6 separate regions of the Homo sapiens genome follow, and all the other regions are linked to region 1. The links are contacts of gene promoters, found by promoter capture Hi-C in blood cells and fetal thymus (Javierre and others, 2016). All regions are on one chromosome and are shown on one strand. Each heading gives the region's core, a stretch centred on a gene start or on the middle of the fragment in contact. The rest is flanking DNA. Distances are from core to core; before and after follow the strand shown. Region 1 holds the start of HSPA4 (heat shock protein family A (Hsp70) member 4). Region 2 overlaps VDAC1 (voltage dependent anion channel 1). Region 3 holds the start of C5orf15 (chromosome 5 open reading frame 15). Region 4 overlaps SLC22A5 (solute carrier family 22 member 5). Region 5 holds the start of CARINH (colitis associated IRF1 antisense regulator of intestinal homeostasis). Region 6 holds the start of IRF1 (interferon regulatory factor 1).

Region 1 (3,867 bases), core at 964-3,463:
TTTTCTCAAAATAAATAAATAAATAAATAAACCTTAATAGGGCTGTTAACAAGACTAAACTCAGCAAAGGGACAGCAAACTACCGTTTTGGCTTCTGGGATGAGTTTTCAGGGGAAGCACCTGGGTTAGGAGGTGGGGGGTGCGGAAATTTGACAAGTGGAAAGGAAATGTGAGACTTCTGAACAATCTAGTTTCGCTGAAACCTGCTGAAGAAATGTGACAAAAATTGAGGGTGAAAATAATGGACCTTAGAATTGAGCCCCTGGGGCCGGGCACCGTGACTCACGCCTGTAATCCTAGCACTTTGGGAGGCCGAGGCGGGAGGATCACTTGAGGTCAGGAGTTCGAGACCAGCCTGGGCAACTCGACAACACCCCGTCTCTACTAAAAATACAAAATTTAGCCGGGCATGGTAGCACGCGCCTGTAATCCCAGCTCCTCAGGAGACTGAGGCAGGAGAATCGCATGAACCCCAGAGGCCGAGGTTGCAATGAGCCGAGAGCATGCCACTGCACTCCAGCCTGGGGCGACAGAGCGAGACTCCATCTCAATCAATCAATAACAAGTGAGCCCCTGGGCAGGGCACGGTGGTTCATGCCTGTAAGCCCAGTACTCCAGAAGGCCGAGGCTGGAGGACTGCTTGAGTCCAGAAGTTCGAGACCATCCTGAGTGACATAGTGAAACCCGATTTCTACTAAAAATAAATAAAATTAGCCAAGCATGGTGGCGCACGCCTGCAACGCCAGCTACTCAGGAGGCTGAGGTGGGAGAATCACCTGAGCCAGGAGCCAGGGAGGTCGAGGCTGCAGTGAACCAAGATCGCACCACTGCACTCCAGCCTGGGCAGCCAGAGTGAGACCCTGTCTGTCTCAAAAAAGAAAAAAAAAAAAAAAAAAAGAAGAGAGACCCTGAATGGCAAATAATACAGAACTTCTTACAAGATTTTGTCTAAGAACACGACAACGGATTAAAATGTATCTACAAGTATTCAAAAGGCAGACACTGTAACCAGTGAAAGACCTGAGTGACCCACCATTTTTTAGAACTGTGTCTATGCTGGTCCCAAAACTTACTATGGGTTCTAGAAGTCAAGGCGGGCCCTTGAGCCACTAACAATTGTGGCCAACACACTGGTTAGAATGCATTATCGTTAAAGTGCAACCCTATTGAGGGGTTAACGCGCACAAAACAGAGAGTGACCCAATATAGCACAATATCCCGAAATAATGTGGAAAACAAAAGCGATTGCAAAGTTATCATAAGAGCACCGATTTTATTAAATTCCTATCCGTGCCAACCCAATCTCAAGACCCCGAGTCCATCCGGAACCCGTGCCTGAGGCTGCTCCAGCTCGCTCTCTTCCGGGCGCTGCCCCGCCCCCACTCACGTGGGACGCTGACCGCTCCACGGTCTCGCGGCTGGCAAGCCCCAGAACCCGTTCGATTCAACTATTATTAAGCGCCTGCTGTGTGCAAAGTTCTGAGCTTTCTGTTGGACTCAAAAGACTCAGTACGACCTGGGCCTGGTCTCTGCCCTCAAGAAAAGGACCGCGATCCGTTTACATCCTAGGCCTGCAGTCCTTCCAGTTCCTACCCGTGCCCTCCGCTGGTCCGAGTACCGGCCAGAAGCCTTTCTTCGGCCGACGGGCCACCGGGGAAAAGGCCCTCGCGCTTAGCACACACCCACGCTCATAGTGGGCCGCGGCCCCTAGTGTCCTAATACCTACTGGGGGTCCCTGACCTACCGGGACCTCGGCTCGGAACGGAGGCGACTCCTCGGCCCGCGTTCCCCAAGCAGCGAGGGTCCCAGACTGGAACAAGCATTATCTCCTAACCCCAGTGCACGCGGCAGGCCCGGCCCACACTTACGGCGTGCAGCGGTCGCTATACTCATTAGCGATAGTCTCGATGCCGCCGGCGCGGGCCACAGCGACGTAGCAGCTCTGGAAGCCCAGGTCTATGCCCACCACCGACATGGCGCCGGCTACTGCTCGGGCTCGGGCCCGGGTCCGGCCACCGAGACAGGACACGGACCCCCGGCGGGGCTAGCGAGTGGAAAGCAGGCCTCTTGGGCCGAGGCTACTGAGGGGCTTGCGGTGTCCACGCGAGCGCCTAAGTCCTTCCAGTGGGTACTGCAACCGAGAGCGCTGCTCAGGCCGGCTCCGGCTCAGTGGCCGCAGAGGAGGCGCCGGTAGCGGGGGCGGAGAAGATCTCGAAAGATCTCGTTGCGACGAGAGCGGAGCCGCAGCACCAGAGCTACGAAAGAACGGGATGTTCTCGCGATATCCCGGCTCAGGCGCTTTTCCCCTTGAGGCCCCGCCCCCAGTACGTCTGAATACGTCACGTCCTGGCTCGAGAACCTGGGAAAGGACTGGGTGGCTGAAAGATGGCTGGAAAGCGCATTTAGCCAACCGAGCCTGCGCATGGAACCTGCGGCGCTGCACAGCTGCATAGAGATGTGGAGCACCTCCCTTTACCGTAGAAAGTAGGCGAGCCAGCTCGAGGCACTATACTGAGGAAGCGCTGCGGCCTACTTCCGCCGTTTTTCTTAACATCAAAGAAACTTCCGGTAGTGGGGTGTCTTGCATTCCACCGTGTCGGTGCCCCAGAATGAGACGCAAGCTGATCTGCAGATCCCGCAGGGTGCCTTCTGCTCTTTTCGGGGCAGGTTGGCCGGTAGGGGAGAAGGCCGCCATTGGAACGCGGCCTTTATGTCGGGTTCTCTCAAGAGTCTAAGATCGCACCCTCACCAGCGGAGGGAAGGAGCCCACTCCCAGCCACACCGCTTTGTTTTCTTTCGCTTAGCCTTGTTGCGCCGTTCTCTAAGCCACTCATGTCCTTAGATCAGATTGAGGGGCCCGCAGGATTTAAGCCTTTAATCCACAGCACATTCCAAGCACCTACCCGGTGGTAGGCCCTAACAAGGAACACAGGCAAGTGACACGCTGCCTGGCCTGAAAGGTCCGCTCAGACCTTTACATGAAGTTAATAAATGTTAAGCTTCAGGGCCCCTCGCTTGTATGGCCTCCTGGGAGAATAGATAGTTGCTGAGTTGTGGAGAGGGGAAGCCAGCTTGAGATTAGGAAGCAAATCTATGTAAGCATTTCTAATAAATTACCCAGAGAGATCTAAGGAGAATCTGAATCTCCAAGTCTCTAGTAATGTGTTGTGATTTGTCGTTTTAATTATTTGTTTTGTGTATTTGTAGGGCCCCCCAATGGTATATAAGTTTCACCTCTGCAAAACCTGGATCATCCCCATCATGAGGGTGGCTAAACAAGTAAAGGTGACCCCAGTACAGAATGGCGAGTGCTATATGCACAGAATGGTGGAGACTAGGACAACTTCCCAGAAAAGGAAAAGGCTGTGTTCAAGTTTGGAAAACTAGCAATAGAGACCATAGTTTAAGGACTAAAAAGAAATTCTCCGTTGCTGGAGGGTACATCATGAGTTGAAGGTCTCAAGGCTAGAGTACCTGCCCTTCAGCCATTTTAAAAGTGAATGAGCAAAGAAGAAATTACATTGCCCTGGTATGCCCTTCCCTTTAAATACCTGCATTTCCTGCCACCTCCGGAGGTACTTCACTCTATAGGAGCAACCCCAAACCCGGGTTGATTACCATTAAAACTTGCAAATGGCCACACTGTTCTCACATTTTGCCTAACTAAAACCTGTTAATTCTTCAAAGACAAGTACCAGGTGCTACCTGTAAAAGGGTACTGGGAATAAAAAGAGTAGAGGCAGCCAGGAACAGCCTTTGGAAAAACGAGAGCAGGGACATATTTGTACATTGTATACCCATGTTCATAGTAGTTTATTCACGGTAGCTAAAAGGAGGAAACAATCCACATGTCCATTGACAGATGAA
Region 2 (3,867 bases), core at 513-3,012, 930 kb before region 1:
TTTTTTGTTTTTATGAGATGGGGTCTCACTCTGTCACCTAGGCTGGAGTGCAGTGGTATGATCTCGGCTCATTGCAACCTCTGCCTCCCTGGCTCAAGGGATCCTCCCTCCTCGGCCTCCCCAGTAGCTGGGACTACAGGTGCCTGCTGCCACCCCTGGTTGATTTTTATATTTTTGGTAGAGACAGTGTTTCACCATGTTGCTCAGTCTGGTCTCAAACTCCTGACTCAAGTGATCTGCCTCCCACCTTGGCCTCCCAAAATTCTGGGATTACAGGTGTGAGCCACCACACCTGGCCTCAAATGGTAATTTTCTATTGCCATCCTTCCTTCACTTGTTAATTGGTATTCTACCGTAAGGAAGAGCTATTCCTTCTTCCCCATGTATTTATTTAATCAATTATTTATTTATATTAGTATAGATGCATGGACATTTACTCTATGGGCTATAATGCACAGTGTCATTTATTTTGTCGCTCAAGTTGTCCCAGATATGGGCTTTGGGAGAATACACTCTGTGTGCTTTTTGACAAACCTCTGTCGTTTTTCAGAGCATGTCTTTATTTCTGGTTTTAGAAAGTGTACCACGCTCATCTAGTACTTGTTTTTCCCCAGTCCTGCTATCTGCCATTTCTCCAAGGAGCCTTGGTTCTTTATGTTGGAGAATGATATTTAGAAACTAAGATTGTAGGCCTGGCGCGGGGGCTCATGCCTGCAATCCCAGCACTTTGGAATGCTGAGGCAGGTGGATCACGAGGTCAGGTGTTTGAGACCAGCCTGGCAAAACCCTGTCTTTACTAAAAATACAAAAATTAGCTGGGTGTGGTGGCGCACACCTGTAATCCCAGCTACTCAGGAGGCTGAGGCAGGAGAATTGCTTGAACCCAGGAGGTGGAGGTTGCAGCGAGCCGAGATGGTACCACTGCACTCCAATGTGGGCGACAGAGCAAGACTCCATCTCAAAAAAAAAACAAAACTAAAATTCTGGGTGCTAGATGTACATAATGCTACTGGGTATTTGAGGAAAGTTCTGGTGGTGCATCATGGAGATTAGAAACGAAAGCTGGCTTTCCAAAGTGACTGAGGGTACAGCCTGGGAAAACACCTGGCTCCCAGGAGGAGCGGAGTGTAGACCACATCTGGATGAGGCCACAGACCTCAATAAGGACCAGCACCCACGCTGAGTATCCATCACAAATAAAGCTTGCTTGTTAACCACAAATCAGTCAGGCCTCTCTCGGGTGCTTGTCAAATTAGCACTACTGTTGAAATAGCTTAAAAATAAATCCCAATAATATCTGAAAGAGGAAGACTCCACAGACATGGTGTGCAGTGTTAGAAAGAGACCTGGAGAGAAGCCTGAGCCACTCCCCAGCACTGCCCTTTCTCTTGGGGATTGTGGGCCCTGGCCAGAATCCAGTGAGACAGTGGGTGGGGGTGCCATGTCAACTGGTGCAGGTGGTGCACACCACTGGTCAGAGGCCCTGCCATAGGCATCATAGTTTGTGATCATCAGCAGCTTTTTATTAAAAATTGAAAAAGGAGATGGTTAGAAGATGCCTGATTTTATATTTCCTTTTCCCTTTGTAAATGTCAGCCTCTCAACAGCTGTCTAATCATCAGTCATCTCAACCAGCCTGGTGCCAATCACATACTTGGCTGAAACCCAGACTTCTTTCCCCAAAGAGCAGGCAGATGAAGATAGGTTTCTTTTTCTTTTTTCTTGAGACATCTTGCTCTGTCGCTCAGGCTGGAGTGCAGTGATGTGATTTCAGCTCACTGCAACCTCCACCTCCCAGGTTCAAGCAATTCTCGTGCCTCAGCCTCCTGAATAGCTGGGATTACAGGCACATGCCACCACGTCCTGCTAATTTTTGTATTTTTAGTAGAGACAGGGTTTTTCCGTGTTGGCCAGGCTGGTCTCCAACTCCTGACCTCAAGTGATCTGCCCTCCTTGGAGTGCTGGGATTACAGGTGTGAGCCACTACGCCTGACCAGTTTTGGATTTTTCTTATTGAGAGATAATTTGGTTGTTACTCCTTTCCTTCAAACCTTGCCAAAATGTACAGAAGTAACTTGAACAAAATTGAGGTTCCAAGGCATAAGTTTCATTGTCACTTGTTCTGTTGGTGAGCAGGTCTGTGCACACCTACTCCCAACTGCTGAGGGAGCTGAGCAGCCAAAGAAAGAGACTGACAAATCCAGTTTCTCAGAAAGAAACATTTAATAGAGACTTACAAATAGAAGCGATGTCTCAAGCAGCCAAGAGACAGTGGATCCCTGCATTCATCCTCCAGAAAGTATTCTTTATATAGCAAGCTTTTAGAGTAAAGACATGTGCATGTCTTAGACCATCTTGCAGAAAACTCTTGCAAAACTTGTGACCAAAGGGAGGTTAGATAAGCATCTTTACTTTTTAAATTTTTATTTATTTATTTTTTTGAGACAGTCTCACTCTGTCACCCGGGCTGGACTGCAGAGGCGTGATCTTGGCTCATTGCAACCTCTGCCTCCCGGGTTCCAGCGATTCTTCTGCCTCAGCCTCCTGAGTGTCTGGGACTACAGGTGTGCACCACCACACCCAGCTAATTTTTGTATTTTTAGTAGAGATGGAATTTTGCCATGTTGGCCAGGCTGGTCTTGAACTCCTAAGCTCAAGTGATCTACCTGCCTTGGCCTCTAAAAGTGTTGGAATTACAGGTGTGAGGCACTGTGCCCGGCTGGCATTGTTTCTTTTATGGGATTGTCTATGATGCATTCCTTGGTCGTCATGGCTGTATTAGGCTATTCTTGCCAGGCAAGGTGGCTCACGCCTGTAATCCTAGCATTTTTGGAGGCTGAGGCAGGCAGATTGCTTGAGCCCAGGAGTTGGAGACCAGCCTAGGTAACATGGTGAAACCCCATCTACACACACACACACACACACACACACACACACACACACACACACACACACGCTGGTCATTGTGGTGAGCGCCTATAGTCTTGTCCTTGCATTGCTCTAAAGAAATACCTGGCCAGGCGAGGTGGCTCACACCTGTAATCCCAGCATTTTGGGAGGCTAAGGCAGGCAGATTGCTTGAGCCCAGGAGTTGGAGACCAGCCTAGGCAACATGGTTAAACCCCGTCTACCCACATGCACACACACACTAGCTGGGCCTGGTGGTGCGCACCTATAGTCAGTTCTAGCTACCTGGGAGGCTGAGGTGGGAGGATCACCTGAGCTCAGGAGGTAGGGGCTGTAGTGAGCCATGATCGCACCACTGCACTCCTGCCTGGACAACAGAGTGAGACCTTGTCTGAAAAAAAGAAAAAAATACCTGAGGATAGCTAATTTATGAAGAAAAGAGGTTCAATTGGCTCATGGTTCTGCAGTCTGTACAAGCAGAGCACAGGCATCTGCTCGGCTTCTGGGAAGGCGTCAGGAAGCTTTTAGTCATGGTGATTGATGAAGCAGGAGCAGGCACATCACATGGCAAGAGCAGGAGCAAGAGAGAGAGAGTGGTGGGGAGGTGCCACACGCAAACAACCAGATCTCATAACTCATTATTGGGAGGACAGCACCAATCCATGAGGGATCCACCCCCATGGTCTAACCACCACCCAGCAGGTCCAACACTGGGGACTGCATTTCAACATGAGATTCAGAAGATACAGCATCGAAACTGTATCAGTGGTGATTTTGTTTCAAGACGGTGTCACTCTTGCCATGGAACAGGCTATTTTCCTACATCACTTGGGAGGGGTGCTGGCTTTATTTTCAGCTGTGACCTCTAAAATTCTTGTCTCATTGAGAATTTGGAATTTTTAACCTTTATTTTTTTTTAATGAGAAATCTGAAACATACAAAAATATACAGAAAAATATG
Region 3 (3,867 bases), core at 785-3,284, 920 kb before region 1:
CTTGGAAGTTTGTAAGTTTGCATTTTTATACACTGGGGATTTCAAGTAACAAAATTTAAAAAGAGAAGCTTATTTTAGGAAATCTGAAAGTTATTTTCAATGGCAGCCCCTCACCTCTACTTCCTAGCTACCTTCCTTTCTTTTCCTCCATAATTTTTTTTTTTTTTTTGAGACGGAGTCTGTGGCCCAGGCTAGAGTGCAGTGGCATCTCGGCTCCCTGCAGCCTCCACCTCCCGGGTTACAGCGATTCTCCTACCTCAGCCTCCCGAGTAGCTGCGATTACAGGCACGCGCCACCACGCCTGGCTAATTTTTGTATTTTTAGTAGAGTCGGGGTTTCTCCATGTTGGCCAGGCTGGTCTCCAACTCCGGACCTCAGGTGATCTGCCCTCCTCGGCCTCCCAAAGTGCTGGGAGCCACTGCACTAGGGCCGGTCCATAATATCTTTATCATCTTGTATAGTGTGTATTTTACACCATATTCGCCCTCACAAGAAAATAAACTGCCAAGGCGGGCGGGGGGGTGGGGGGTTCTTTTTGTTCACTGCTGTATCTTAAATAGGGAGAGGTGCTAAATCTTTGTTGAAAAAAAATAAATGACTGTCGGGAAAGATTTTTAAAAATTACTTATAATCCCATCACCGAAATAGGACTACTTAACATTTGTGTTTCTTTCGCCTTTGAGAGAGGAAGAGCAGTTACTTCGCTTTCGTGATCAGTCTGTTCTACAGCTGGATCTTCCTTTTTAAAATGGCTAAAAACGCTATTTTTGGCTGTATAGTACCCAATCATGCAGGCGGCAGGGAGGGGCTCGCTTTGGCCCTCTTCAGCACGTCACACCCTACCTTTAATCCGCAGCCAACTGTGTGGCGGTCCCCACTTTCGCCTAGCGGCAACTCCCTCCTCCCTGCAATCCTTCCTTCTTATTCCGGTTTCCAGAGCACGTCTCCAGGCTTCGACGTCACCACGCTGGGACGTATGTGCCGAGGGCCGCGGCGTCTGACCTCATGGCGTAGAGCCTAGCAACAGCGCAGGCTCCCAGCCGAGTCCGTTATGGCCGCTGCCGTCCCGAAGAGGATGAGGGGGCCAGCACAAGCGAAACTGCTGCCCGGGTCGGCCATCCAAGCCCTTGTGGGGTTGGCGCGGCCGCTGGTCTTGGCGCTCCTGCTTGTGTCCGCCGCTCTATCCAGTGGTAAAGGGGGGCGGCAGTGTGGGCTTAGGAAGGCTAGGAGGGCTCGGGCGCAGGGCAGGAGACAGGCCGGGCCAGGGAAAGGGCGCTTCCAAGTGTCAGGAGCAGACGGCGGTGTCTGGTTGGGTCAGGGTCTCCGCGGGCCTGAGGACGGAGGGTATGGTGTCTGAAGGGGTCCAAGGTGGTAGGGTCTCCAAGGGGCCTGAGAAGCGGGGTCCCTGAGAGATGCAGGAACCCAGGGAGCAGGCAGCAGGGTGTGTAGATGGGCGGGGAGGGAGGAGTGGTGTTAGCGCCTAGAGATCGTTGAAGAATGGGCTGCCGCAAGGAATGGCGGTGGTGGGGTCTCCAAAATTTCTTGGATCGGAAAGTTAGGAGACTCTGGAAGAGAGGGTGGCGACAGGGGCTGAGGAGGTGGCCGGGGCTGGGGGTGTGGTGTCTGGAAAGGGTCCTGAGTTTGGGGGACTCAGGAATCTTGCAGGACCAAGGAAAGGTGGGGGTTTTCCAGAATGGGAGAGGTCAGTGGTAAAGACCGAGGCGGGCAGGGGCAGTAATCCAGTGACTGGACTGAACCAATGGAATATTTCCGAGAGGGAAAGTGAAAGGGAAAGAGCTGTCTTAGGGTACTGGTGCATATTTGAAGACTGGGAGGTTCTGGTGTTTGATAAAGATTCAGAGTACTGGGGCGTTGGGCCCCTGAAGGCTTGGGAGGCAGAGAGGAGTTTGGAGACAAGGGAGATCATGATTCCTCTTCCCTGTGTTCCGAGTTAACCAGGATAACCCTGCCTCGTTTTAATGCATCTGTAGGATTTGATTGATAAAATATTTCATTTCTTGCAAATGTTGCATGGTGAAATCAAGAGATTGAAGGCTTTTATTGAGAAATTAGGAAATCTGTAAACCAGTGCCTGATACTTGGTGGGAAAAATCCACTATTAAGAACTTGTAAGGATTAAACGGTATTTTGTTTAGTAGTCCCATTTTTCTTTCAGGCCAAGACACAGTCCTGCGTTTCTCCCTAAATTTGAATTTTCAGCTGCAAAACAGTGTGACCTGGTATAGTGTTTTCTTTCTTGCCAGCAGGGCCTGTCCAGCCCTACATTCCTCTGCGACAGTACTGTGGGTACATACTTATGTTTCCTCAGCAACATTTCAGTGTTGCTAACTGGACGCCCTCCCAGAAGTCTTTGCAGTCCCTGAGGAAGGACTGCTGTCCATTTCCTAAGGCCCTTTTATCATTAGTGAAATGTAATGAGGATTTCCCTGGTTGATGCAGATATTCCCGTTCCTAAAGTACTTAAGTAGCTTAATTGTTTTGGCCATTTAATCATCTAAGAAAAATAAAACACAAACATTTATATTTCCTGCTGGAATGCTTAAGGGATATATATCTGGCAACTGTAGTTTCAGAAACAGCTTTTTTCCCCTAAGAGATGGTTGAAAATTGGGCAAGAAGTGAGGCAGAATGTGGACTGTTAAGTGTCCTTTAGTCTCTGCTTTTATTTGTTAGAGCCCTATAAATATTTTTCTAACTATACTGAGACATTTTAGAGAATCTTTATCTTTTAAATTAAGTCTTTACATACACCAGTTTAAAATGTCATAAATTCAGATTATTCTGTCCTGAAAAGAAGCTAAATGAAAACGAACATACATGTCTTTAATAGGCGAGCAGCTCCACTGCACTACAGTGTAGCTTGGGATATAAGTATTTTTTGTAAGCATACCTTATAATTTCAAAGTAGTCACTCCTGTAATAAGAAAATTAGTCTAGAATGTGTTGAGTTCCAAATTTCAAGTGAGTTTACAAAGGTAGAAGGTTACCACATTAGATTTATTTAAATTTGTTCCATATTAGGTTTTAAAAACTGTCAATGCTTGGTTATATGCTCGTCAGTCTGTAAGAATTTTTGTTTTATGTTTTTGTTTTGATCAAGTCTAAAAAATTAACATAAGCAGTTTGGATCACTGGGTGACTAATTCTTGGTCATGCCATTTCAAAAATGCCTGGTTCTCTACATTTGCCATTATATTGTCCCCAAATGATCACCTAAACTTAATGTATAATGCATTTCATTTTTAAGGCATTGTTTCTCAAACCAGTGTGTGAATGAGTTCTCGGGGTCCTCTGCATTCTTAAGTTTAAGAAATGCTGATATAGTTTTATTTTAGGGCAGTTTTTAAAAAGGGACCAGTAGAAGGGGAGAATTAAATTTATAAAGTTTTGTTTTTTGTTTTTTTTTTGAGTCTGTCGCGAGGCTGGAGTGCAGTGGCGTGATCTCGGCTCATTGCAACCTCCGCCTCCCGGTTTCAAGTGATTCTTCTGCCTCAGCCTCCCGAGTATGCTGGGACTACAGGCGCGCACCACACCTGGCTAGTTTTTGTATTTTTAGTAGAGACGGGGTTTCACCGTGTTATCCAGGATGGTCTCAATCTCCTGACCTCGTGATCCGCCCGCCTTGGCCTCCCAAAGTGCTGGGATTACAGGCCTGAGCCACTGTGCCCAGCCTTTTTTGTTTGTTTGTTTGAGACAGGGTTTTGCTCTGTCGCCCAGGCTGGAGTGCAGTAGCACAAACTTGGCCCATTGCAACTTCCGCCTCCTGGGCTCAAGCAGTCCTCCCACTTCAGCCCCCTGAATAGCTGGGACCACAGGTGCCTGCCACCGTGCTCAGCTGATTTTTGT
Region 4 (3,867 bases), core at 782-3,281, 660 kb after region 1:
TTGCATGTCTGTGGTGCAGGCTACATGCTGCTCCTGTCTTGAGGCCAACTCAGGGAATGGTGAACTGCCTGGAGGGATCCTGGGCCATTCCTTGGAAGCGGGTGACTCATAGCACTCCCTCAGTAGGCACAGTGGCTGACTGCCTCAAAGCTGGATGAGACTAGTAATAAGGACTCTGAGATGAAGTCCGCCCTCCTCGCCCATCTTCTCACCGCTAACCCACCAGGCTCCAGAAGTCGCCTAGAATCCCAGGGTTCGGCCGCTGAGCAAAAGCTAGCGATGTGCACTTGGACATGTTTCCTCTCCCTGGTAATTCACAAATCCCTTTCTGACATACTTTGCCTCATTAGTGGGAACCTGGTAAGGACATCTAGGCTATAGCCCTGACTCCAGGACCGTTTATGGACATCCCAGGAGGAGCACATCCCACTTCCACATTTCCAGAAAGTAACTGGCAGCCTCTGCAGCCTACAGGACATGGTGTCTTCACTCAGATCCTTCTTAAAAGCCCTACCTGGCCTCCTCAGCCACTGTCGGTAACTGGGTAGGAGACGGGAACTAAATGACCCAAATTGGGCAAGGATTCATCTTAAGATCTGGAGAGATTCCCCACAAGAGTCCATATTTCCCACAACAGCCTCCACAATTGTTTTCATTCTCCTTTTCTGAGGTTCCATCCCATTAAGAATTGTGACATGCCCATTTTTTCCATCTAACACAAGACATATCCTTTTCACTCTCTGATGACATAGGCTTTGAATTTTGTCTGAGGCATGTCTGTAAACAAGAGGCCCAATGGCCACTTCAAGAAGCTTTGTCTGGAAGCCTCAGGCAGGTCTCTTTTACATACCACAGCATTATGGACATGATGGTGACCATCCGGATATTCCAGGTTCGAAGCAGATCCAGAATGTTGTGGGACTGCTGCTTCTTGGAACTTAGGTCTTGTAACTGCAGGAACAACATCATAAGTGTATGGGAAGAAGAGGTGGTCAGAGACTCAGAGCACACAATAACATACTTGAATCCCTGGCATCTTAGCTGTCTGCATCTCAGCGTCGGGGAGTGTTACGTTTCTAAGAACAGTAAGTATACTGACTGTGTTTTAGGCTGTGAAAACTTCCCTAGGCCTTGTCAGTAACAAATCAGAGTGAATGAAAATGAGGAAAAGTAAGTGACCAGTCCCTCAAGGGTACAGGAAGACAGAGGCCCAGGCTGACAGCTTCCTCACTGCACCCCCACATATTCCTGTCGGTGGCCACATTCCAAGGAGGCCTCTAAGTATTCCTCCCGAAGCCTGGCTCCCTGCCCTCTGGGTCAGAGAGAGTACCTGGCTGTGTGGTTTATTGGTCTGATATTTTTTAAAAGTTAATGTTTTGAGTCCTTATACTATGTAGTTACTGGTGTGCTTCCAGGGAAAAAGAATTCAAATAGAAAAACAGGAAAATTGACCTGAGCTTCACCCAGAGTGACTTCCTATGAAATTCAGCACAGCCAAGGCCATTAATAAACCACACGTCTAAACACACTGATGTTGCTTTCTTAAGCAAACCCAGGTTTGGAGCTTGTTTTTCCAGAGTTAGAAGTTCAACAAAAGGTCAACTTTGGACTGAAAGTATCCCCTGAAATAGCCTCATTTCCTCAAAGATGCCAGTGGGGCTTATGCATTCACCCAGATTGACCCCTCACTTAAAAGCCCCCAAAACCACCTAACTTAAAAGCCCTCTGCCACACTCCTGCCTGACCTTTGCGCACAGGACCCCTTTCTGGTGCATGCTGACAGTGGCTGCTGGGCCACCACTCACTGGGAAGTCTGCAGGGCTGGCAGTGGCCATTGGCCTCCGCTGTCTACAATAACTGTTCCCTCTTTTCCAAGCCCAACCATGCCTGCCTCTCACACTTCAGCAGGGCTGCTTGTGGCTGTTCCCACACCCAACCCCTCATCTTCCAGTCAGACCACAGACACATTCCAGAACCCCACCAGGCAGCATTTACAGCTTCTAACCTCTCATAGTCACGAGACCAAGGAAAACTGCCTGCTACAGAGATGGTAGGAGAGGGAACGGGAAGGAAAAGCAAGAACCAGGAACTAGGTAGAGCCAAGAAATGAGTCATGGTGTGTGAGAACAGGGCTGACGGGAGGGGTGGGGTAGGGGGAAGAGGTGGACATCAAAAAGGACCTGACTCCAAGATGATATGCAATAATTAACCATTGGAGGGCAGAAAGAGACTAAACACTTTTTTTTTCTTTTTAATGAATAATTGCTAATACTCAAGAGATGAAATACTTCTAACTCCAAATCTATTTGTGCTTTACATTTTACGTTTGGGGTTAGCTTTGTAAGGTGACAAGCCACCTTAGGTATAAGAAACAATGATTTTCCCAAATGCTGACTTTATGAAAGGCCTATTACTCAAAAAGAGTATTTATTGTTAGAAGTAATGGTTAAAATATATGATTGCCTAGAAAGGAAGTAAAAAATGAAAATCTGAAACCCGTGGTGAAAAGAGTGAGGCAGCTGTAACCTATTCCTCAACTTCTGAGTGTTAACAGGGCCCGTGTGGGGGTGGGGAGTGGGGGGATGGGGGGAATGGGCAGTTGGGGCTTGGGCGGAGAGAGGGCTGGGCTGCTGTGAGCAGGGAGGACTTCAGGGCTGGGTGCTGCTGCTCTCAAATCACGGTCAGTCTGTCCCTCTCACCCACACCCACATGGTGCTTACCTCACTCGGGTCAAAGATAGTGGAAGGCACAACAATCCCATTGGCTTTGGCAGCCTTGCGGATGATCACCTCTGCCTCTTCAAATCGTCCCTGAGAGATGAGCCATCGGGGGGACTCAGGGATGAACCTGGCAGTACAAGGTCCAATCTCAGTGAGGCCTCCCTGCCAACAGCAGACCCACAGACCAGGTAGAGCACAGCCATAGGTGGGAATAAGGTTGCAGAACCAGAGCTTGTGGAATGTTTGGTGATCACAAGCCAGAAGCAAAGAGCTGATCCACACGCAGCAATAACCTGGGGTGGATGAGCTTATGTGTACCCCACACCGCACAAAAATGGGAGAGCCCTGCACCCCCTGACGGCATCCCCATGCTGGCTGGCCACCTCCATTTCTGAAGAGCAGTGTTGCCATCTGCTGGGCTGAGGAGATGGGTGCAAGATGGGCTCCGGAAGCCTGGCTTCTGTGCATGTCTATGTCAGCCCAGGCCCTGCTACACTCTCCTCCCTGTCCCCGGCACCAACAGAAGCTTCTGCACTGGCCTTTTAGCTTCTCTTCTCTCCTCACCCTACCCCTGATTTATCCAACAGATTAGTCAGATACTCTACCTAAAATAGCATGTTTGGCCAGGTGCAGTGGTTCACTCCTATAATCCCAGCACTTTAGGAGGCCAAGGCCGGTGGATCATTTGAGGCTAGGAGTTCCAGACCAGCCTGGCCAACGCAGTGAAACCCGTCTCTCCAAAGAAATACAAAAAAAATTAGCCAAGTGTGGTGGCAGGCACCTGTAGTCCCAGCTACTCGGGAGGCTGAGACATGAGAATCGCTTGAACTGGGGAGGCGGAGGTTGCAGTAAGTGGAAATCACGCCACTGCACTACAGCCTGGGCAACAGAGACTTTGTCTGAGAAAAAAAAAAGAAAAAAAAAGAAAAGAAAAAGAAAAGAAAAAAAGGAAAAAAATTAGCATGTTTATCAAGGCACTTGAGTGCTCTATGGATATTATTTTCCACCTTGCTGGGACCAGGTAGCCGCCCCCCACCCTCGGTCATGACTGGGCCCCATGATGTGCGGCTTACTCTCCCACTATGCCCTGAAATGCTCTCTGCTCCACTTGGGCTGGTGATCTCACCTTCTCCACCTGCAAGGGGTG
Region 5 (3,867 bases), core at 551-3,050, 640 kb after region 1:
CTCGTTCTTTTCCTCCTGGGAACACCACCAGGCTACATTTCCCAGCCACCTTACAATTAGGTGAGACCCATGAGACTAGTCCATGCCAATGGAATGTGAATGGAAGTGCATCTAATTTTCTGGCTCATGAAAACAGCAGCATTTTCTCTATTTTCTTTTTTTCTTTCTTTGTTTTTTTTAGACGGAGTTTAGCTCTTGTTGCCGAGGCTGGAGTGCAGTGGCGCGATCTTGGCTCACTGCAACCTCCGCCTCCCGGGTTCAAGCAATTCTCCTACCTCAGCCTCCCAAGTAGCTGGGATTACAGGCATGTGCCACAATGCCTGGCTAATTTTGTATTTTTAGTAGAGACGGGGTTTCTCCATGTTTGTCAGGCTGGTCTCAAACTCCCGACCTCAGGTAATCAGCCCGCCTCGGCCTCCTGAAGTGCTGGGATTACAGGCGTGAGCCACCGTGCCCGGCAAGAGCAGCATTTTCTAAAAGCAATCAGTACTCAACACCATCCTGCTGAGGTAGGGCAGCGGCGGACTCCATGTTTTGAAACTTAGGAACTTAGACCATCTTTTGTCAAATTCAGATGGTTTTCTCAAAGTAAAGATCATTCAAGTTTTGTTTCAGTAATGGGCCGTATGATCAGATCTGTGTGATTAGGCTGAATTCATTATTATTGAGACAAAAATTGAGTTAAAGGGGATTCTTGGTATTGGCCTGCAAAACCTGTCATAACTTAAATGTAAAGTTTCTGATGATTTAGTCACTTTACTCTCAGCTCTTAGCTCTTTCACTCACCTGTCCTTGTTCTACACAACCTGCCTGATGGGTAACTTGAATACATATTTTCTCTCTTCAGGGGATGGGAACGCCCTAAGGGCAGGGGCTGTTTCCACAGCCCTGGGGTGGAACCCCCTTCCTGCATACCAAGAATGAGTTGGCTATACTTGACGAAGGGCAAAGACAAGGTGGCACGCATCTTTCATGCTTCTGCTGGCAGATGCAGTGGACTGGAAATTTCCTGGTCTGGGAAGGACTCGGTCTGTGAGTGCACCTATCCCTGACATCTATGCTAGCCCCGGGATGGGGGCCCCAGCAGAGTAAGGCCCTGACTTCACATGGACAGGGCCAGGGCAAGGGGGCCACATCCTGGCCTAGTTGCTCTCCATGCCCGTGATCAAGGGAGATGAGCTGCCAGCTTGCTCGGTCAAGGAACACTTGGAAGGCACTCCAAGTGCCCCCAGGTGCACCAGATCTAGGAAACTTAAGCAAACTACATGAGGTATGGGGTGGGGCCCAGTGGGAAAAATGAGTCTGACAGGTCAGAGGGAGTAGATTATGAGCTCAGGTTAGGCATTCTGTTCAGCATTTTACGTACACCCTCCCACTTTTGATTTTTACCAACACCCAGGGAGGTCGGTGCTCTACAAAAGGGAAAGGCGTGCTCAGGTGGCCCGACTTGCCACGGTTCCAGCTCGACCCCGGGCTGCTAGCCCCTTGGCACGCTTGTCTGAGGCCTCCCAGGTCTTCCAGCCTGGCCTGGAGGCTCAAAGCCACGAAACCCAAGGGTGCCGCTTCTCAGGCCCTCCCCGCCCCCACGGCAGAACCCCTGACCCTGCCCGGGTCAAACGCCTGGCGTCGGGCCCGCCGGGTCCGCAAGGAGGAGCCCGCGAGGCGGCCGCGAAGGGGCTGTGCTTACCTCGCCCGGCGCGGGTTGCGGCCCCAGGGCCCGCGCTCCAGGCTGGCGGCCGCTGCATTCTGCGCCCCTCGCCTGAAACGGCAGCTGCGCCAGTCCTGGCCACGACCGCTTTCATTTTCCTCAACGACATCGGCAGGAAAGCGAAAGCGAAACCCTCCGGGAGGCGGGACCGGGGCCGAGCGCGCAGTGAACGCGGGGCGCGCGGCGGGCGCGGGCCGGCAGCCAGAGGCGGGGGCCCCGGGCTCGGGTCTGCGCGTGGCCTGGCCCGGTGGCGTTCGGGGTGGAGCTGGGCCAGCCGAGTGCCCGAGAGCTAGTCCGCCACGCACACCTGCCTCGGCGGGACCCGGGCCCGGGCTGGGCGGGAGGCTGGGCAGGCCCGCCGTAAGTGGAAAGGCGCCCGCGGCGCTTCGGCCGACCGGGACAGGTTCCTCCATCTGCCCTTCATTCAGCGTTTACTTGGGCCTGTGGCTGGCAGCCGGCCCGGGACCTGACCGCTGGCGGCGCCTCGGGCTCTGGCCTGAGGAGGCAGATGGCAGCCTGAGCAACTGGGACCAAGCCTCTGAGGAGTCCCCGTTGGAGGGGACTTGACCATGAGGTACCAGGCATCTCATCTGGGGTCAGCGGAGAACCCAAAAGTCAATGACGTCGGTGAAATGGGGGTCCCTTCATCCGATAAGAGAAACTGGAACAGCAAGCCTATGGTTTGGACTCCCTGGTCTAAGCGGTGCCCATCAATATCTAAACATTTAGAGATTCCAGGTTTCAGTGTCTGGCCGTCTCTTACTGTCAGTGATTTGGGGCAAAATATTCAAGTAGTTAGACTTAATTACTTCCCCTGTGGGATGGGAATAATAATAATCATACCTACTGCCAGAATTTTAGGAATGAACAATAGAAGGAAGAAAATACTTAAAATTTTCTGACAGCCTCTAAGTGGGTTCCTTGAGGGCAGCAACCAAGTCATTTACCTGGATGCTTGATAGACATTCTCTAATGGCCAGTCCATCAACTTGGAGCTATCTCCATGATAACAGGTTAGTTGTCAAAGTTTGGACAATATTATCTGGAGTTTAAAGACTGAGGAAGCCCTGCAATTTTTTTTGGAAGGTGTCTGAAACTTAGCCTGACAATTAGCCCCCACAATTATGCCACGGAACCAGGTTTTTGTTAGAGTGGAGCATGGCCACAACGTTTGATGGACATTCCTACAGCGGTGTTCAGCGCTGGCCACTGAGGTCTGAAAATACTTTTGCAAGCATTTCTATTCACTTGCTTTTAGAAAACATTGGTAAGACACCATACTCCAAACACAGTTTGCCCTGTCTGTACGTTTGTTGCAAAGCAAACATAAAAGTTTTTGCCATAGAGCAAACACAGAGCAGTCTGTTATAACTGGAACAAGAAACCAAAATGAGCTATTAAATCTGCCCAGAGTCACTTTGGTTTACCTGTTTGTAATTTGGGCACATTCCCTGCAAGATGGAGGCCCTGGTCTGTGACTGATGTAGGGGCTTGTATGTGTCCTTGCAATAGTTCCCTCAAGAGCAGGTGGGAAAGTGGGGCAGGCCAAATGATGACCTTAGAAAAACAACAGCCTGTTTCTCTGTCCAGAAGATGCTACTTTTAGTCTGTAGTATGAAGGAAAAAGAAAAAACAAAAAAGGCAAGCCTTGGAGCCTCTTCCTCCTTATAGGACAATTCTTGACTCCAAGATAGCAAAGTAGAGTTAAATCTGCTTCTGCATAAAAACTATGTTTGGGAAGATGAAGATCAGGAAAAGACAGGAAGAGATGTAAGCAGATAAGCCAAATCCTGGTTACCTTTTATAGACATCACACATGTGAACAGAGAGCATCAGGAGGTCAAGGCCGGCCTGATGTTTTTCATCTTGGCAACTTCCCAAGGTCCAGGTTTGGTCCTTGACTTTGTGGGGCCAAAAATCTCATCTGACTTCCAGTGTACCAGAGTCGATTAGCACTGTTGCATAAAGTCAGAATGACAACTGACTGATTTCATTCACTATTTGCTAGAGAAGTGCTATGCTAAATGCATTACATGCATTATTACCTCATTATTTCTCCCTACTATCATGTGGTATATTATAATCTATTTATTTTTCATTTGGGAGAAAAAAAGATGAAGGAAATCCCAAGGTCACATAGTTACTATGTATGTTAGTGG
Region 6 (3,867 bases), core at 866-3,365, 560 kb after region 1:
AATTTTTATTTATCCTTGTGAAAGAATAATGTATACCTATTACAAATGACATTGCATAAGTACATTTCATGACATGGAAAGATGCTCATTATGGCTAAATATACATATGCATATACGGGTATATTTATACCTGTATCTGTGAATTAAAATTAAGTTTTTGTTTTAAAGCATTTTTTATAGTGTCCTGTTGCCTTCACAGGGTCACTGTGGTCAACTTATCAGACCACAAAGATGCAAACTTCCTTTCCCTAATCTCATCCTGAATTTTCCAGTGGATGTGTCAGGTTCTCAGGGGAAGGACAAGCATCTATTTGCTGTACCAAGAAAGGATCCCACGACTCAGGGGTCACTTGTTTTCTCTTATTCTTGCTCAGAAGGTCTTGGTCCCTGTAGCAAGTCCCCACTTCCATTTGTCACTTAAAGTACCCCAAAACCCACCTTTCCATTCCAGAGTGTCATTGCCCTCCACTTTGCTTAACACTCAGTTAGGTTCCTTCCTCAGTTTCTCCTACCTCCTTTCCTCTCCTAGCTCCTGACCCACCTCTATCTGGTAGACAGTTTTGCCCATTCCTGCTGGTATCCTGGGAACCAGGTTTGGCATTGGTCACAGCACTCAGATTGCAATGCGCCAGAATGGGATTAACCCATGCATTTCCTCTACGGGAGGGAGGTAGAGTGACTGGCAAGTCGAATGTTGCATGGGTGTGTCTATTTATAGCCTGCAAAATGGGGTGCTGCCCTGGAGGGAGAGCTGGGGTGAAGGAAATGACACGCCTGGGAGAGTAACTTACTTCTGCAGGAGCTTTAGGGAGATGAAGGAAGAAGCCTCCTGGGCCAGAGTTTTGGATGGAAAATGAACACCCAGTCAAGTCTCTAGGACTATACGTGGGGCGGGGACTAGTTGTGCGCGAGAGTTAAGTAGGGGCCTTACCAAGGAGCATGGGACCTGGGCTCCCCAACCCTTTGGCTAGCCCCATGGCGTTGATCAGCCCTGAGCTAATTCCTCCATGCTGCCCAGAACCTCTCTGGGCCAAGCCCTGGGGACTCAGAGATGACAGCAATGCTTCCATTGCGGAACTCCCATACGCGGGCCACAGGGAGGCTCTGGAGGCGGCCTGAGGCAAGAGTGCTAGGAGGGATCAGAGCTAGCCCACCCCTACCCTCACTCAGCCGTCTGGGCTTCTCTGAACCCCTTCTCCTCCTCTGTTCCCTAAAGCCAGCCAGGGGGAGTCCCAGGGAGGCAGACCGAAAAGGGGTGGGGTGTCATCCTGGTCACTATTAGACCCTGCAACGGCGACCTTGAAAACTACTCAGCGTCTGTTGCCCGAGTGGAGCATAGTGCTTTACAATCTCTTCCCATCACAGCAAACCATCAAGGTAGGGCTACTATTATTTTATGGTTGAAAAACAGAGGTCCTGCGTCCCTTGGGGGCTGTGCCAGCAGCGGCCAAGTTGGGATTTCCCCTGGTCCAGCAGCCCCAGACAGCACACGGGGCAGGGTAGGCTTTCTGCCTTCTTCACTTCCCCAGGGCAGGTGAGTGACCTGGAGGGAGGGGGTCACCCCTAAAAACAGGGGTAGTGCTAGGACTGAAACCCTCCCTTCTTGATATCCCACTGGCAAGCTTGAGGAGCCAGGCTGCCAGTCGGGAGATTCGGCCCAGTGTTCCCACTGGAGAGGGCGGCAAGTGCCCGGGCGATCCCCTCACCTGCGTTCGGGAGATATACCCCCGCCCCCGCCCCGCCAGGAGGGTGAAAAGATGGCCCCAGGAGCCAGCCGGCTGGGACAAGGCGGAGTGAGAGGACAGGCTGGGGCCAGGGGCGCTGGGCTGTCCCGGGCAGCCCTCCTCCGGGCAAGCCGGAGCAGGGGTGGATTGGGAGCGCTCGGGGCGGGCCCGCGGTGGCCCCGGGGCGGTGGCGCCCGGCCGGAGAGGGTGGGGCGGAGCAGCCGCCCTGTACTTCCCCTTCGCCGCTAGCTCTACAACAGCCTGATTTCCCCGAAATGACGGCACGCAGCCGGCCAATGGGCGCCCGCGCGGCTGTCCGGGGGCGGGGCCGGCCAGGGCTGGGGAATCCCGCTAAGTGTTTGGATTGCTCGGTGGCGCCGCTGCCCTGGCAGAGCTCGCCACTCCTTAGTCGAGGCAAGACGTGCGCCCGAGCCCCGCCGAACCGAGGCCACCCGGAGCCGTGCCCAGTCCACGCCGGCCGTGCCCGGCGGCCTTAAGAACCCGGCAACCTCTGCCTTCTTCCCTCTTCCACTCGGAGTCGCGCTCCGCGCGCCCTCACTGCAGCCCCTGCGTCGCCGGGACCCTCGCGCGCGACCGCCGAATCGCTCCTGCAGCAGAGGTGAGTACGCCTTTGAGGCGCGGGGCACCGGCGGCGTCGAATAAAAGGCGCGCGGGGCACCAGGAAGTGGGGGGTCGAAAGCTCCAGGCTGGAGACTCGCCGGCGCGCGGCGTTGCCCGGGCCTCCGCGCGGGCTCCGGGGGGCGCCGGAGGAGCTGCGAGCCGCGGGCCGCGGCGCGGGGAGGGCGGGACGCGGCGTGGACCGCCCACCCGGACGAGGCTGCCGGCGCCCGGCAGCTTTCGCAGATCTGCGTGCGCGCAGCCGCCAGGGGCCTGTAGGTGGCCCGCTATGTTCGTCCCGCGCATCCACACGCCGTGCCGGGGACCGAGTGTCAGCCCACGCGTGGGCGCCCAGTGCTCCCGGCTTTCGGCGGTCCCAGCTCCGCGCCCAGGCGACAGGTTTTGGGCTCCCTGTGCTGGTGGCAAGGGCTGGCTTACTGCCCAGGTGGCTGGAGGGAATCGTGACCTACGGAGACTGCGGGAAGAGGCGCCACAGGTGTTCCTTGGGCCACTTCTCCAGAGGAGGGGAAACCGGGCCGGAAGGGTTAGCGTCCTGGTCTTAGCGTTGTGGGCGCTGTGGCTGTCAGGAAGGCGTAGAATGGATTCAGGGGGGCGGGAGGGGGCTGTTCAGGGTGACGGCTAGCCCTTTGCTAGCTAGTGGTTACAACTCAAGTCAAGGGAATTTCTTCTTGGCATCAAGCAAAAGAAGTCCCTCCCTTCCCAAAGGATTTGAATTTTGAGCGAAAAGTTCTGAAATTAGGGTATCTGTGCATTTTGTCTCTTTTCCTGCATATGAATCCTGAAGCCATCACTTGCATGCCTGTCTCCTCCAGAGACTGGCTGGGAGGGGCTGAAGGAAGGGGCAAAAGCATTTTTGCCTAAGATGCTGAAAAAATTTGGAGAGCAGTTTTATTCCAGCGCAGCTCCCCTCCGCACTGAGTGTAGTACCTAGCAGCTGGCTGAGGTGAGGGGAGGGTAACTAAGTGACCTCGGGTGGGGCAGGTCACTGCCCAGGTACTGTTCAACAGATTCCAGACTGGAGCCTCTGTGTTCTCTTTACAGCCAACATGCCCATCACTCGGATGCGCATGAGACCCTGGCTAGAGATGCAGATTAATTCCAACCAAATCCCGGGGCTCATCTGGATTAATAAAGTGAGTGTAACTCTTTGGGTTTTCCTGCCACTGTTTTAACCCATGTACTTCTGGAGGGACCAAAGCTTCAGATGCAGCTCAAAAAGGGAAGTGATAACGGGACAAGCAGGTGTTTCTCCCAGTGGGTCCTGCATGCAGGGAGTGTGCACGGCCCAGCCTGGGCCTCACTTGCATGACTCCTGCCTTCTTCCCTTCTTGAGGTAGGGCACCCACCTGAAGGCACTTCCAGTTTCCAGCAGCAAGACTTTCCAGCATCTGCAGAGCTGGAGTTCTGCTCTCCTCTAAGCGAGACCCTTACAAACATACACAGCACTCTGCAGGGCTCCAATCGAACAAATAGAAGACTGAGAAGTGGATGCTGCTGGGCAGAA

Evidence for each region. Contacts are between HindIII fragments. The CHiCAGO score rates a contact against its expected background, and 5 or more counts as called.
Region 2: a contact is called between a fragment that was not itself captured here and the fragment with the promoter of HSPA4 in region 1, in 1 of 17 cell types (M1 macrophages). The highest score is 5.8, in M1 macrophages.
Region 3: a fragment that was not itself captured here is called in contact with the fragment with the promoter of HSPA4 in region 1 in 1 of 17 cell types (naive CD8 T cells); the score reaches 5.6 in naive CD8 T cells.
Region 4: a contact is called between a fragment that was not itself captured here and the fragment with the promoter of HSPA4 in region 1, in 1 of 17 cell types (fetal thymus). The highest score is 8.3, in fetal thymus.
Region 5: a contact is called between the fragment with the promoter of CARINH here and the fragment with the promoter of HSPA4 in region 1, in 1 of 17 cell types (fetal thymus). The highest score is 7.7, in fetal thymus.
Region 6: a contact is called between the fragment with the promoter of IRF1 here and the fragment with the promoter of HSPA4 in region 1, in 1 of 17 cell types (fetal thymus). The highest score is 5.1, in fetal thymus.

Annotation. Positions count from the first base shown.
Region 1 is chr5:133,050,359-133,054,225 of GRCh38, reverse strand. It overlaps HSPA4 (heat shock protein family A (Hsp70) member 4), which reads right to left and starts at 2,213. Exons shown (of 19, transcript NM_002154.4): 1 at 1,869-2,213. The coding sequence starts at 1,975. RefSeq lists enhancers at 37-999, 2,238-2,417, 2,608-2,657, 2,728-2,777, 1,964-2,926. The HindIII fragment of the contact is 9,846 bases long and covers 1-3,001 here.
Region 2 is chr5:133,983,508-133,987,374 of GRCh38, reverse strand. The region is part of intron 5 of VDAC1 (voltage dependent anion channel 1); the gene reads left to right. Among named protein-coding and RNA genes, the nearest start is that of C5orf15, 17 kb to the right of the region's middle. The HindIII fragment of the contact is 1,116 bases long and covers 1,205-2,320 here.
Region 3 is chr5:133,965,769-133,969,635 of GRCh38, reverse strand. It overlaps C5orf15 (chromosome 5 open reading frame 15), which reads left to right and starts at 1,011. Exons shown (of 3, transcript NM_020199.3): 1 at 1,011-1,190. The coding sequence starts at 1,052. LOC105379183 (a long non-coding RNA gene) reads right to left here and starts at 947. Exons shown (of 2, transcript NR_134247.1): 1 at 844-947. RefSeq lists enhancers at 868-1,087, 1,718-1,817. The HindIII fragment of the contact is 3,928 bases long and covers 71-3,867 here.
Region 4 is chr5:132,386,005-132,389,871 of GRCh38, reverse strand. SLC22A5 (solute carrier family 22 member 5) reads right to left here. Exons shown (of 10, transcript NM_003060.4): 5 at 2,721-2,847; 6 at 851-951. Among named protein-coding and RNA genes, the nearest start is that of MIR3936HG, 18 kb to the right of the region's middle. RefSeq lists enhancers at 3,032-3,241, 3,382-3,431. The HindIII fragment of the contact is 2,434 bases long and covers 815-3,248 here.
Region 5 is chr5:132,408,862-132,412,728 of GRCh38, reverse strand. CARINH (colitis associated IRF1 antisense regulator of intestinal homeostasis) reads right to left here and starts at 1,800. Exons shown (of 4, transcript NR_161242.1): 1 at 1,688-1,800. RefSeq lists silencers at 1,502-1,791, 1,862-2,161 and an enhancer at 2,402-2,451. The HindIII fragment of the contact is 5,230 bases long and covers 1-3,867 here.
Region 6 is chr5:132,489,021-132,492,887 of GRCh38, reverse strand. It overlaps IRF1 (interferon regulatory factor 1), which reads left to right and starts at 2,115. Exons shown (of 10, transcript NM_002198.3): 1 at 2,115-2,343; 2 at 3,405-3,496. The coding sequence starts at 3,410. RefSeq lists enhancers at 864-913, 954-1,163, 655-1,300, 1,434-1,573, 2,595-3,242 and silencers at 1,714-2,163, 2,424-2,703, 3,234-3,283. The HindIII fragment of the contact is 1,939 bases long and covers 1,625-3,563 here.